Regions from separate parts of the Homo sapiens genome. Here region 1 is linked to region 2. Evidence: promoter capture Hi-C in human tissues and cell types (Jung and others, 2019). All regions are on one chromosome and are shown on one strand. The core of a region is centred on a gene start or on the middle of the fragment in contact, and the rest is flanking DNA. Distances in the headings are between cores, read along the strand shown.

Region 1 (6,837 bases), core at 1,211-3,710, 170 kb after region 2:
ACTGTAAGTAAAGGAGCCGGGGCTATTTATTACTCCGCATGCTAACATCTTCTCATGTCCTCTAGATGGTTGAGAGATGAGACCCACGTGTCTCAGAAGAGCAGGTCCTTGGCCAATGAGAGTTATGGAAAGAAGAGAGAGTAGCAGCAGAGATAAAGGGGGAAGCTACCTCCCTTCCAGCCTCTCCTTCCGAGGACTCTTAAAGCACCAAAGGACACATGCATGGAGCAAAAATAGAGGATTGCATCGGTTCCTGAGGCTGCTCCAGGGCCAGTGACACCACCAGGAATGAAGCTGGACAATTCAAGGAAGGGCCACATCACAGCTTTCTGTGGAATTTTTTTTCTTTTCTTTTTTTTTTTTTTTTGAGACGGAGTTTCGCTTTTGTCGTCCAGGCTGGGGTGCAATGGTGCGATCTCAGCTCACTGCAACCTCCGCCTCCTGGATTCAAGTGATTCTCCTGCCTCAGCCTCCTGAGTAGCTGGGGCTACAGGAATGTGCCATCACACCCCGCTAATTTTTTGTATTTTTAGTAGAGATGGGGTTTCACCGTGTTGCCCAGGCTGGTCTCAAACTCCTGACCTCAGGTGATCCACCCGTCTTGGCCTCCCAAAGTGCCGGGATTACAAGCATGAGTCACTGCGTCCAGCCTCTGTTGAATATTTTATACGAAACAAAATCACGTGTCTGTGTATAGTGTTCCATCTTCTTAAGAACAATGCTACTTTTTAGAATAGGAATTTCTACATTATCATGGAATTCTTTTGATTTCTAAAAAAAAACCTTCAAAACTTTATGTTTTAAATTTAACAAGTAATATGTTTATTATAGAAAAAATTTTAACAGATAAACAAAAAAAGAAAGAAAGGAGCTCAGCAGTAATACGCAGATACAAGAACTGTGACTATTGTCTCAGTGTATTTCCTGAGGCTCCCTCCTGCAGTGAACAGACACAGACACGTAAGAGGGCATCTGTATGTGCGGGTTAATAACCTCTTTTTTGCACTTAATAATAGGAAAATACCCTTCGGATTTTTTCACATGGCAATTTACAGGTTCCTGTGAACATCATTTTCTTGCACCATCATCTTTCTCAATTGTTGCTGAAGTAATTTTCTTATTAAGGTGGCATCCATGGGCCAACAGCCCTTGCAAAACAATTTAGGGGTGATCCCTGAAACTCCTGGTTGCTAAGTGTGGCCTCCAGCCCTGCAGTCCATCTGCACACCATCCCTTCCTCTTGTGCTTGCAAGAAAATGCAAGTAAGTACTAGGGACTGTTGCCACCAACCTCATTTTCAGACACTGGGGACCCTGCAGGCTGGTCTCACTGTCTCCTGGGCTCTCCGCCTTCACCCGCGTGTGACCCTGAACTGTGGCAGATCTGGGGACCATCCACCAAAGAGCCCTCCCACCCCCCTCCTGCTAACCCCAGACTCTGCCCCTCCTCACGTGCCCAGGACAGGCCACGCCCCCACAAGGCCCTGAGCTTGGGTCTGGATTGATCTGAGGGACGTCTGCGAATGCCCCACTTGCCCCGCAGTTGGTCTAGCCACAGGCGTTAGAGGCCCTCCTGACCCATGAGATATGAGGGGGAGTTCTGGGGGCTGGGGGTGGGAGATCCTGGACAAATGTCCTCCTTGTTAAAAAAGAGACCCCATGCAAAGCTGTTCACTTTTCTGCTCTGAGCACCGCCATGGGCTGACTCGCGCCCCCTCCTATTCACCTCCTGCCCACCCCACTCAACTCACCCTTCACTCTCTGAGACGTGGCGTTCACACTGGCGGCTGCTGAGGTCTCTGGGTCAGAGTGTGAGCTCCTATGGGGGAAGAATTCCTCCCCTAGTCCACACCACATGTAGACCCGGAATGCTGATCCAAAGGAGACCAGTGCCAGGGCACATCAGCAGGAATCTGAGCCCCAAGGCTGCTGCCACCAGGGGCCAGGAGCCAGCTTCGGGCCCCTTTCTTTGTCGCTCCCCACCCCACCCTGCCCAGCTGCGGTCCCTTGGTCCATAGAAAGCGTAGGCCGCTAAGCCAAAGCTGTCACTGCTGTAATATGAGGATTCAGAGGAGATGTTCTGATTTTCTTTCTGCAGAAGGAGTCAGGAATTGTTGTGGCATTGTTTGGGTATTAATAATCTTCCTAAATCAAATATCTTTAGGCTACCGTATCATGCTGAGGACAGCCATCTGCTATAGTGGCTTCCAATTTTTTGGACATGACCCACTTCTTACACCAAAACCCATTATATAAAGTGTCACAAAACATACTTTCCTTTTCTATAAGATGTACTCTGATATTTAATATATATTTCTACATTCTTGTATGCCACTACACGGATTTCATGGCCCTCTAGCGAGTAGGAAAATTGCTGATGGACTGAATCCCCCTGCACCTCCTGGCTGGCCTGATAGAATAGCCAGCCCTCTCATTTTGTCCATGTACAGTTGTGCAGGTTGCACACTGCACAGCTCCAGGATGTTATAGTGCCCTGTTGTTTCATAGTACATAATGGGATGGGGTAGCTCTGTCAATAGTGTGGGAGCAGAGGGAAAGCTTCCCTTCTGCTCCCTGTGAAGGCTTGCTGAAATGACTGAAAAACAGATTAACGGGGGGAAAAAAGCAGACAAACATTCATGTGTGTTAGCATGGGAGCCATATGAAATATGAGACTCCAACAAGGGCAAGATGGTTGAGACTTAAATACCCTTTTCATGGAGGAGAGGGAAGTGGGGGCCCGTGGGCCATTTTAGGGGAGAGTCAGTGATTCTTAGGAGAAAGGAATGGACGCAGGAGGCAGACATTATCTTGTCAACGATTCTCTTAGGAAACTGAATAGGACCAGCAAGTTATGGGAAGGTGAGGGGTAGAACTGCACCGTGAACACAGATTTTCTTCTTATGTGACAAAGCCTCCAGGGTCATCACTTTGAGCTGCCCTCAGAAGAACAGATGAAAAGTCTGGGGGTGGGGGTGACCTTTAGGCTTTTCTCTCCTCTGGTGGCTAAATCTTTCCTGGTTATTTGATCAGATTCCTCGGGAAGAGATCTTAAGACAATTGTATTTCTTTTGGAAAGAAGTTTCCTAAGTCGGATAAGGAAATTCCAGGGAGAGGCTCTCTGCACTTGGGGGCTGGAGGAGGAAACAAGGTTAGAAAGTCCAGAATTCTGAGACAGCTTCGAAGGACTTCCAATGTCCTTTAATTCAAGTGCTCGGCTTTGCCAAAGCACCGTGCACTGGGGTCTCGTTCTCCTCATCTTAGCGCTAGCAAATGGTATTGGAATTTTTCTAAATTAACTTATCAGCAAATTAAATTAATACTAATTTGTCAAAATTAAGTGAGTCACTAAAGCTTTCTGGGCCTCATCTGCATTTCTAAAATGAAGCTAATTACAGTGGCCCAGTTTACCTCCCAGAGTTGTGTTTTAAAGCTTAAAGAAGCATGAGGTGTTGGTGCAAACCGGATATTGGCCTCGTCCTCACTGTTGCTGTTGGTGCTTTCTGTTTGAACTTTCCAAGTTTCGCAGAGAGCGAGGCCTTGCTCTCACACTCAGCCGAGGCAGAGGACGCCCCTGAGCTCTGCTTCATCATTTACAATTCCCTCGGTGAACACACGTTTCCTGGGTCCCTGTGGGTAACACACGGCTTGCCCTGGTCATCCTGTATCCAGTGACTGGAGCTCGGAGGTTCAAAATCTAAAAGCAAATGTGAGCCCCTCGACTCCAGCTCCCTGACCCTGGGTGCCCCGCTGAGAGCAGCAGTGCATGCGTACCCTCATTCGGGAGGCCAGCCTTTCATCACTGGGAGAGGAGACAGGTAAGCAAATGTGAAGTAACTGCCTCCAAATTGTCTTGTGCTGTGTTGCCCTGTTTTAGGAAAGGTGCCATTAATCCAATTTGTTTAAAAAATAAATAAATAATAGGGAAATAACCGCAGTGCTGAGATGCTGGCTGCATTTTGCTGAACAGACGAGGCTTTGTGCCAGTGTGAGGAGCTACCGAGTGAAGACATCCCACCTACGGTGGCAGCAGGGGTGGTCTCCCACCTGTCCCCAACAGCCCCAGGCCAAGGAGGCAGCTCTCTGAACTCTGGACTTTAGTGAGTGCTCCCCCGCTGAGCCTCCCCGTTCCCGCTGTTCTGAAGACAGAGACCTCCGCGAGCGGAGCACGAGCTCCCAGCCTATCATGAACATCGAGCAAGACGTGGCACGTGAATTTCATTTCTCAAGGAGAATGGCACTAAAATCCTTGGCTAGGGAGAATGTTTCCAACAGAGCAAGGCAGTCAGTCCCCGGGAGCTGAGGTCCCTGTACATCGTGTATTACTAAACAGCTGCCCCTTCCATCCTCTCTGCTTCTACAGGCTGTCCCATAAAGTTGATAACATTGAAGACTTCTGAGCTAGCTTGAGAATGATGTTGATTACAATAATGAGCCTTATTTTCTAATCATTCCCCACACCACATGACCCACACCTTCCTCCCTTCTAGCCTGCTTGGCAGGTCAGCCTCAGATGATGAGGAGGGAGGCCAACCGGGCCTGGCTTGGAGGCTCCCCAGAGCCCCCGCAGTCTGCTGAGTGTGGGGCGACTGTCCATGGGTCTTGCTCTAACTCAAGGGAAGCTGGAGCACCCTTCCTCGAGGGTCTTGCTGCCTGGCTGGCCAGGAGGACAGTGTGGATGGAGCCACACACCCTGAGGTCCTTCCCAGGAAGGGAAGTCTTCCAGCCTCGCACCAGCCTCTATAACCATCACTCAAAGGTGGGTAAGCAGCCCTGGTACTCAGAAACCACGGCAGCCCTATAGAGGGGATGCTTTGCTTGAAGGGGCCTTTTAGTACTGTCTTTGCTGGGATTCTCCCAGGGCTGTTTACCTGGAAGGTTCTGGAAACACTAGAGTGGAGGGGAAGTTCTACTGGAAGGCAGCCAATGAACGCTGTGTTTGCAAGCCGGCTGCCATGACAGGGGCAGGGTCGGGGGGGCAGAAGTCTGCTGGGAAAATCCTAGAAGCCGGTGCAGAACACGTGCAGTGGGACGCTCGATGTGGAGTATTCACAACCCCTGCTGTAGGGCCTGAGAGCTGATTCCCTCCCTGCCAGGCTGAGTGCTGTCAGGCAGGGAAGGCGGAGCTGGGCAGGGGAGTCAGGCAGGCAGGGAAGGCGGAGCTGGGCAGGGGAGTCAGGGGAGCCCCAGGGAAAGCAAGTCCTGCTTGGTCCTGCCAGCTGCTCCCCGGACCTACGGGTCTGGGAGTCACCAGGCTCCAAGGAGTGACCCCCCAACCATGGTCAGAGCACCCCTTGCTCATGGGCGGGCGTAGGGAGCCAAGGAAGGAAGGTCCTGGGTGTGGGCATGGAAAGGCTCTTCATGGAGACCTCTGCTTGCCCTTCGGGGCTCACCCAAGCTTCCTGACTGATGCTGGGGCCTCACTGCTGGGCCTCACGTGGAAAGAGCCACTGCACACCCCTGGGGCTGGGGGATTTCTGTCTGAGCCACAATGCTGCTAGTGGCAAAGTATGCAGAGTAGAAAAAAAAGCGGGGTCCCCACATATCCCGGGGCTCCTGTGGTGCAGCCGGACCCCAAGACCCTCCCGCTGCTGAGAGGACATGCAGGCTGTCGTGGGCACCTGGCCCTCCTCTGTGTCTGTCCCAGCCCCACATCCACACCAGGGACTGAGCCAGTGCGGGCAGAGGCCCGCCTGCGGCCACAGCCCTTTCACTGGCTGCTCTCTGGGGGCCTCCTTTGACTCTTCTTCTAAGCAAGGGAGGCCTGGCCTGAGAGAAGCTGGTTTGCACATCTCCCCTGTCCACACTGCCCTCCCAGACCCACCCCCGCCCGAGGCTAGACGGAGAGAATAGCCCGGTATGGACACAGGCCGCTTTGCACACACTGGGTCCGCACAGTGCCGAGAGGCCACTCACTCGCTTTGCTTCTTCCCGTGGCTCCCCTTAGGAACTCGGATTCTCGGGGGAACCCGCCTCACCCCTCCCACAGAGGAACAGCCTCTCCAAGGACCCTGTGGCATCAGCACCCTCAGCTCTGAAGACACGGCCTGTGTTTCTTTCCAGCCTGACTGAGGTCCAGAAAGGAGAAAAAAGCAGGCAAGGGGTCCTGCCGCTCTGTGGCCAGCCGGGCCGGGCTGGGAACACCTCTGGCTTCAAGACTCCTCCAGGCAGGACAATGGGGGCCCGAGACCCCTCTCATTTGGCAGCTGTGTGCCTTCTTTTGTTCTTCACTGAAGGCCAAGCTGAGCACGTGCTCTGTGAGCTGCTGGGTGGAAGGAGGAGAGTAGCCCCCGCAGTAACACCAGCCTGGCCCCCATCCAAGTCCAAGCAGAGCAAGGGCAGAGCTGACTTCACACTGCCAGATCCCCTACTTCCGAATTTGGCCAAGTAGCCTGCTGACGGAAGAAAACAATGCCACAGGAATGTGAATCACAGCAAGGAAGAGTTTTCTAAGTGGGAAGGATGAGAGACCTTCTAGAAGTTTCCAGGGGAAGACAGTGGAGCTCTTTGAAGCATGAGAGTGCTGGGACGTGAGGGGGTCACTCTGCTGTGAGTTAGCCAGAAGCAGGAACTGCTGAGCCACACACCCACCGCCAGGCCATGCTGTTCTCCAACACAAGGGCTTTAAAGACGAGTTCTCCAACACGAGGAACCCACCCGCGCGCCTACAGGGTGCACCATGTTTGCAGAGAGAAGTCTCCGTGTGATGCTGGCCTGGGCTACTTCTGGCTGAGCAGGAGCCCTGGGCAGAAAGATCACCTGAGATCAGCACCAGCTCCTTGTAGCTGCGACTCTAAGATTGCCTTAGGCACACTGGTGAATGTAGCCGTCTAGCTGC
Region 2 (6,564 bases), core at 643-3,142:
ATTGCTGGAAATGCTGTTAAATTTTTTGGAACTCTTCTTTTTTTTTTTTTTTTTTTTTTTATTGATCATTCTTGGGTGTTTCTTGCAGAAGGGGATTTGGCAGGGTCATAGGACAATAGTGGAGGGAAGGTCAGCAGATAAACAAGTGAACAAAGGTCTCTGGTTTTCCTAGGCAGAGGACCCTGTGGCCTTCCGCAGTGTTTGTGTCCCTGGGTACTTAAGATTAGGGAGTGGTGATGACTCTTAACGAGCATGCTGCCTTCAAGCATCTGTTTAACAAAGCACATCTTGCACCGCCCTTAATCCATTTAACCCTGAGTGGACACAGCACATGTTTCAGAGAGCATGGGGTTGGGGGTAAGGTCATAGATCAACAGGATCCCAAGGCAGAAGAATTTTTCTTAGTACAGAACAAAATGAAAAGTCTCCCATGTCTACTTCTATCCACACAGACCCGGCAACCATCCGATTTCTCAATTTTTTCCCCACCCTTCCCGCCTTTCTATTCCACAAAGCCGCCATTGTCATCATGGCCCATCCCCAATGAGCCGCTGGGCACACCTCCCAGACGGGGTCGTGGCCGGGCAGAGGGGCTCCTCACTTCCCAGTAGGGGCGGCCGGGCAGAAGCGCCCCTCACCTCCCGGACGGGGCGGCTGGCCGGGCGGGGGGCTGACCCCCGCCACCTCCCTCCCGGACGGGGCGGCTGGCCGGGCAGAGGGGCTCCTCACTTCCCAGTAGGGGCGGCCGGGCAGAGGCGCCCCTCACCTCCCGGACGGGGCGGCTGGCCGGGCGGGGGGCTGACCCCCCCACCTCCCTCCCGGACGGGGCGGCTGGCCGGGCAGAGGGGCTCCTCACTTCCCAGTAGGGGCGGCCGGGCAGAGGCGCCCCTCACCTCCCGGACGGGGCGGCTGGCCGGGCGGGGGGCTGACCCCCCCACCTCCCTCCCGGACGGGGCGGCTGGCCGGGCAGAGGGGCTCCTCACTTCCCAGTAGGGGCGGCCGGGCAGAGGCGCCCCTCACCTCCCGGACGGGGCGGCTGGCCGGGCGGGGGGCTGATCCCCCCACCTCCCTCCCGGACGGGGCGGCTGGCCGGGCGGGGGGCTGACCCCCCACCTCCCTCCCGGACGGGGCGGCTGGCCGGGCAGAGGGGCTCCTCACTTCCCAGTAGGGGCGGCCGGGCAGAGGCGCCCCTCACCTCCCGGACGGGGTGGCTGGCCGGGCGGGGGGCTGATCCCCCCACCTCCCTCCCGGACGGGGCGGCTGGCCGGGCGGGGGGCTGACCCCCCACCTCCCTCCCGGACGAGGCGGCTGGCCGGGCAGAGGGGCTCCTCACTTCCCAGTAGGGGCAGCCGGGCAGAGGCGCCCCTCACCTCCCGGACGGGGCGGCTGGCCAGGCGGGGGGCTGATCCCCCCACCTCCCTCCCGGACGGGGCGGCTGGCCGGGCGGGGGGCTGACCCCCCACCTCCCTCCCGGACGGGGCGGCTGGCCGGGCAGAGGAGTCCTCACTTCCCAGTAGGGGCGGCCGGGTAGAGGCGCCCCTCACCTCCCGGACGGGGCGGCTGGCCAGGCGGGGGGCTGATCCCCCCACCTCCCTCCCGGACGGGGCGGCTGGCCGGGCAGGGGGCTGACCCCCCTCCCCCCTCCCGGACTGGGTGGCTGGCCGGGCGGGGGGCTGACCCCCCCACCTCCCTCCTGGACGGGGCGACTGGCCGGGCAGAGGGGCTCCTCACTTCCCAGTAGGGGCGGCCGGGCAGAGGAGCCCCTCACCTCCCGGACGGGGCGGCTGGCCGGGCGGGGGGCTGACCCCCCCCACCTCCCCCCCGGACGGGGTGGCTGCCGGGCGGAGACGCTCCTCACTTCCCAGACGGGGTGGCTGCTGGACGGAGGGGCTCCTCACTTCTCAGACGGGGTGGTTGCCAGGCAGAGGTGCTCCCCACCTCTCAGACGATGGGCGGCCAGGCAGAGACGCTCCTCACTTTCCAGACGGGGTGGCGGCCGGGCAGAGGCTGCAATCTCGGCTCTTTGGGAGGCCAAGGCAGGCGGCTGGGAGGTGTAGGTTGTAGTGAGCCGAGATCACGCCGCTGCACTCCAGCCTGGGCACCATTGAGCACTGAGTGAACGAGACTCCGTCTGCAATCCCAGCACCTCGGAAGGCCGAGGCTGGCGGATCACTCGCGGTTAGGAGCTGGAGACCAGCCCGGCCAACACAGCGAAACCCCGTCTCCACCAAAAAAAAACGAAAACCAGTCAGGCGTGGCGGCGCGTGCCTGCAATCACAGGCACTCGGCAGGCTGAGGCAGGAGAATCAGGCAGGGAGGTTGCAGTGAGCCGAGATCGCAGCAGTACAGTCCAGCTTCGGCTCGGCATCAGAGGGAGACCGTGGAAGGAGACCGTGGGGAGAGGTAGAGGTAGAGGTAGAGGTAGAGGTTAGAGGTTAGAGGTTAGAGGTTAGAGGTAGAGGTAGAGGTAGAGGTAGAGGTAGAGGTAGAGGTAGAGGTAGACGTAGAGGTATCCTTTAATCTTTCTAGGACAGGTACAGTGGCTCATGCCTGTAATCCCAGCACTTTGGGAGGCCGAGGTGGGAGGATCACTGGAGGCAGGCGGATCACTGGAGCCAAGGAGTTCAAGACCAACCAGGGCAACATAGTGAGACCTTGTCTCTACAAGAAGTTTAAAAAATTAGCCAAGCATGGCGGCGCATGCCTGTAGTCCCAGCTACTTGGGAGGATGAAGCTAGAGGATTGCTTGAGCCCAGAAGGCAGAGGCTGCAGTGAGCAGTGATCACACCACTGCACTCCAGCCTGGGCGACAGAGCAAGCTCCTATCTCAAAAAAAAAAAAAAAAACAGATAATCTTTCTAGGACTTGATTTCCCAGGCTCCATAATGGCAATCTGCGCAGGCAGCTTCTGGCTCTGAGTCTTCCTGTTTCTGTGGTGCCACTGCCAGCACAGGGAGGTCATTCTGTATCATGTCACTTGCTTGGTGTTTTACACCCATGGATGATGAAACAGCAACTGCAGCCTGGAGTGCTGGGAGGCAGAGAGAGTCTCGCTTCCCAGGCCATCTGGCTTACTGTGAAGGCCAGAAGCAGCACAGCCTCTCTTGGTCACCAGGGATCAGGACTCAGGTGGAGAGGGTGGGGCAGGGGCTGGCAGTGGAGACAGGTCCACACTGGGAACCAGCTGTGCCAGGCAGTGTGGCCCTGAAGCCCCTAAGGTGTGTCAAGAGGGGTCTTTCAGGAAATGGTTAGAGAGTGCAGGTGTTGTGTTTCTCTCTGACATGTAAACATATGTCTTTCTAGACAGGCAGGTCTCCCTATACCTGCCTTACGTGGGAAGCACGTCCGCAGGAGAGGTGCCACCCAGTGCCTCCAGCACTGATCAGGCCTTTCTCAGGTGTTGGGCAGGGAGAGGCAGAGCCCAAGAGAAGCCTCAGCAGAACACTAACAGTGGAAAGGAGGCAGTGAGGTGGAAGCAGCTTCTTTGGTACATGCAGAAAGTTCTAGAAAGGCCTTTTGGCTTAGAATCCTAGCTCTATTCACGTGAAGCAGCACTTCGGCATGAGGTGGTGCTTGAGGGCCCCTTGTCTGAGTAAAACGTGGATGTTGTAGCTGGTTTTGGGGGCTGTGGGACTCCCCCATCTGCACACCCCCTACTCAGCCGATGTGGTAAGCATTTAGCCACAGCAAGTGCTTACTTAGTATTTGTTGGTTCCTGATACACAGAAATCTCTGTGATCCAAGCAGTGTTTCTCCCATAGGACTCTACCCTGCCAACCCTCAGCTCGGCTCAGCTCAGCAGCTCGCTAACTGTGAAACTCGGACGGACATCCTGTGATCACTCCAACGCTTTAAAATTCATCAAAGCGCAGAGCGCTGCCTGGCCGCAGCCCATTGCTCTGTTGTTCTGAGGGGCAAGGCCACAGCGACCTACAGCAGGGAAGAGACAAACACAGATCTGGTGCAGAGATTATTCGGGTCATCGATGACAGGCAGGCAAGAAAGCAGGAGCGTTTCCTGCACGGCCACACCCAAGCAGAACCTTTTCAGGGTACTCATCCCTTTTTAGGCTGGGCTTCGCTCCCCAGCGAGGTCAGCAGGGCCAGCTGATTGTTTTTATTTTACAGGTGTGGGATTCCCTCTGGGGTCTGACTGCCACACTCAGACACAGAAGGGGCAGCAGGGGCAGGGTTTCTAGAGACAGACCTCCTCAGTCAAATGCTGGCCACTTACCAGTCAGCAGGCTTGGAAATGTTATTTTGCCCCTTTGTGCCTCAGTTTCCTCAGATGTAAATGGAGATAATAAATGTACCTATCTCGAGGAATAAATAAAATCACCCACAGGCCAGCTGTGATGGCTCATGATTGTCATCCCAATGCTCTGGGAGGCTGAGGAGGGAGGATCTTTTGAGGTCAAGAGTTCAAGACCAGCCTGGGCAACATAGTGAGACTCTGTCTCTACAAAAATTAAACAATTGGTGGTGTGCACCTGTAGTCCTACCTACTCGGGAGGCTGAGGTGGGAGGATTGCTTGAGCCCAGGAGGTCGAGGCTGCAGAGAGCCATGAGTGCGTCACTGCACTCTGGCCTAGAAGACAGAATGAGACTATCTCAAAAAGTAAATAAATAAAACAGGTCGGGCGCGATGGCTCATGCCTGTAATCCCATCACTTTGGGAGGCTGAGGCAGGTGGATCACCTGAGGTCAGGAGTTCAATACCAGCCTGACCAACATGGAGAAACCCCGTCTCTACTAAAAATACAAATTTAGCTGGGTATGGTAGCTCATGCCTGTAATCCCAGCTACTTGGGAAGCTGAGGCAGGGGAATCGCTTGAACCCGGAAGGTGGAGGTTGTGGTAAGCCAAGATAGCACCATTGCACTCCGGCCTGGGCAACGAGAGCAAAACTCTGTCTCAAAAAATAATAATAATAAATAAATAAAAATAAAATCACCCACAAAACATGCTGAAAAGACACTTGGCCTGCCGGAATCACTCGTGAAAGTTAGTCATTGTTACAGGGGTGGCTACTAGTTCCACCTGTCCCCAGACACTGTGTGCCCCACCTGAAAGTTAGTCATTGTTACAGGGGTGGCTACTAGTTCCACCTGTCCCCAGACACTGTGCGCCCCACCTGAAAGTTAGTCATTGTTACAGGGGTGGCTACTAGTTCCACCTGTCCCCAGACACTGTGCTCCCCACCAAGTGATGGCTAGGAATCCACTCATGCTGTATTCAGACGGCCACCCCCAGACCCCTCGACTCCTACCCTAAAGCCCTGTTTTGCAAGGGCTGGGTATGTTTGCAGGATTCTGCAAGAATTCTGGTTCAAGGTTCAAAGGAACCATTTAAGAGTCCAATCGGACACCATCACAACCCAAGGACGGCCCTGGCCCCTCTGCAAGGGGTTTAGCTCAGCAGCCCGCAAACCTGCAGAGGCCTGCAGGAAGCCCCATCCCACCTGCGAGGACCCTGGCTGGGCAAGCAGTCCCTTCTTGTCAGTCGATCGAACAAAGGCCTCTCGTCCTTTCCGTACCTGGGAACGCAGGGCAGGTGGGGCGGGGAGTGGAATGAAACAGTCTGATCGGCGGTTATTGGCAGAGGAAAATGAAAGAACAAACTCCCTTTGCATTTTTTGGCTTGGTGTGCAAGAATGATGAATCCAGCCAGGAGAATAGGAAAACAACTTCGTGACCCGCTCCATCCCCTCTTTCCCTGTTGCAAGGCGAGCGGACCGCGCTGCACGGGTCCAGGCTGGGTGCCCCTCTCCCCTGGGGTAAAGAGGCAGCACAGGTTGGGACAGCTAGATGGGGGCAATCCAGGCGTCCTGCCCACGGTTTCCTGGGAGCCAACAAAGGCGCCGAGACCTCACCCGTGTGAGGCAACCGCCCCGTGGTCCCACAGAGCTTCTGGAAGTCTGCGTCCCGGCCTTCCCGATGCAAGGCGCCCTCTCCACCTGCCTCGGCCGTGAGCAGGTTCAGGAGGGCGAGAAAGGTTAGGCCGAGCGGAACCGCGCGGCCAGCGTTACGCAGGGTGCCCTGGACACCCCTAGGCGCCCACCTGGACTTGTTCCCACCTCCTCTCGCCCCTTGCCTTCTTAACCCGCATTACCCGTGTAGGCCTGGGGTGGAATCGGACTACTTGTTCGGGATTTGCTCGAGAACATTCTAGGGAGAAGGCACGCCCGGCTTTGGGCTTGGCCGAGAGTTTAGGGCAGGAGCGCCGGCGGGGAGCTCCCCGGGTGCTGGAGAATGCGTGTCCGGAAAGAAGTAGGGCGCGCTTCGTGGATGCAACCAGGGCCGTCTCGCGCACTTTCTTCCTACCCTGGGACAGCGCCTGAACTGGAGCTGGGCGCACACACTTTACGGAGCCAGCTCGGGTTCTTACGCCCTGGCTCACCCCCGCCCGCCGCCCCAGGATGCAGGTGCTGCGGCGCTCCCTGGTAGCCTCCCGCGCTCCCTGGGGGCGCGCTTTCCTCCATTTCAGGGAAGTCCCCGGACAGGTGCCCACGTTTTACGCTGTCCGGTAGAAGCCCGCGGGCTCAGGCCGACTTGCGCGGCCGCTT

Evidence for each region. Contacts are between HindIII fragments. The study calls those that stand out against the background at their distance.
Region 1: a fragment that was not itself captured here is called in contact with the fragment with the promoter of BLACE in region 2 in 1 of the 25 tissues and cell types used here (H1 embryonic stem cells).

Annotation. Positions count from the first base shown.
Region 1 is chr7:155,537,074-155,543,910 of GRCh38, forward strand. The region is part of intron 2 of CNPY1 (canopy FGF signaling regulator 1); the gene reads right to left. Among named protein-coding and RNA genes, the nearest start is that of CNPY1, 6.1 kb to the right of the region's middle. RefSeq lists an enhancer at 5,014-5,814. The HindIII fragment of the contact is 3,908 bases long and covers 507-4,414 here.
Region 2 is chr7:155,366,041-155,372,604 of GRCh38, forward strand. It overlaps BLACE (B cell acute lymphoblastic leukemia expressed), which reads right to left and starts at 1,893. Exons shown (of 6, transcript NR_103545.1): 1 at 1,769-1,893. It overlaps LOC105375593 (a long non-coding RNA gene), which reads left to right. Exons shown (of 3, transcript XR_928236.4): 3 at 3,762-4,991. RefSeq lists an enhancer at 5,848-6,359 and a silencer at 6,553-6,564. The HindIII fragment of the contact is 9,929 bases long and covers 1-6,564 here.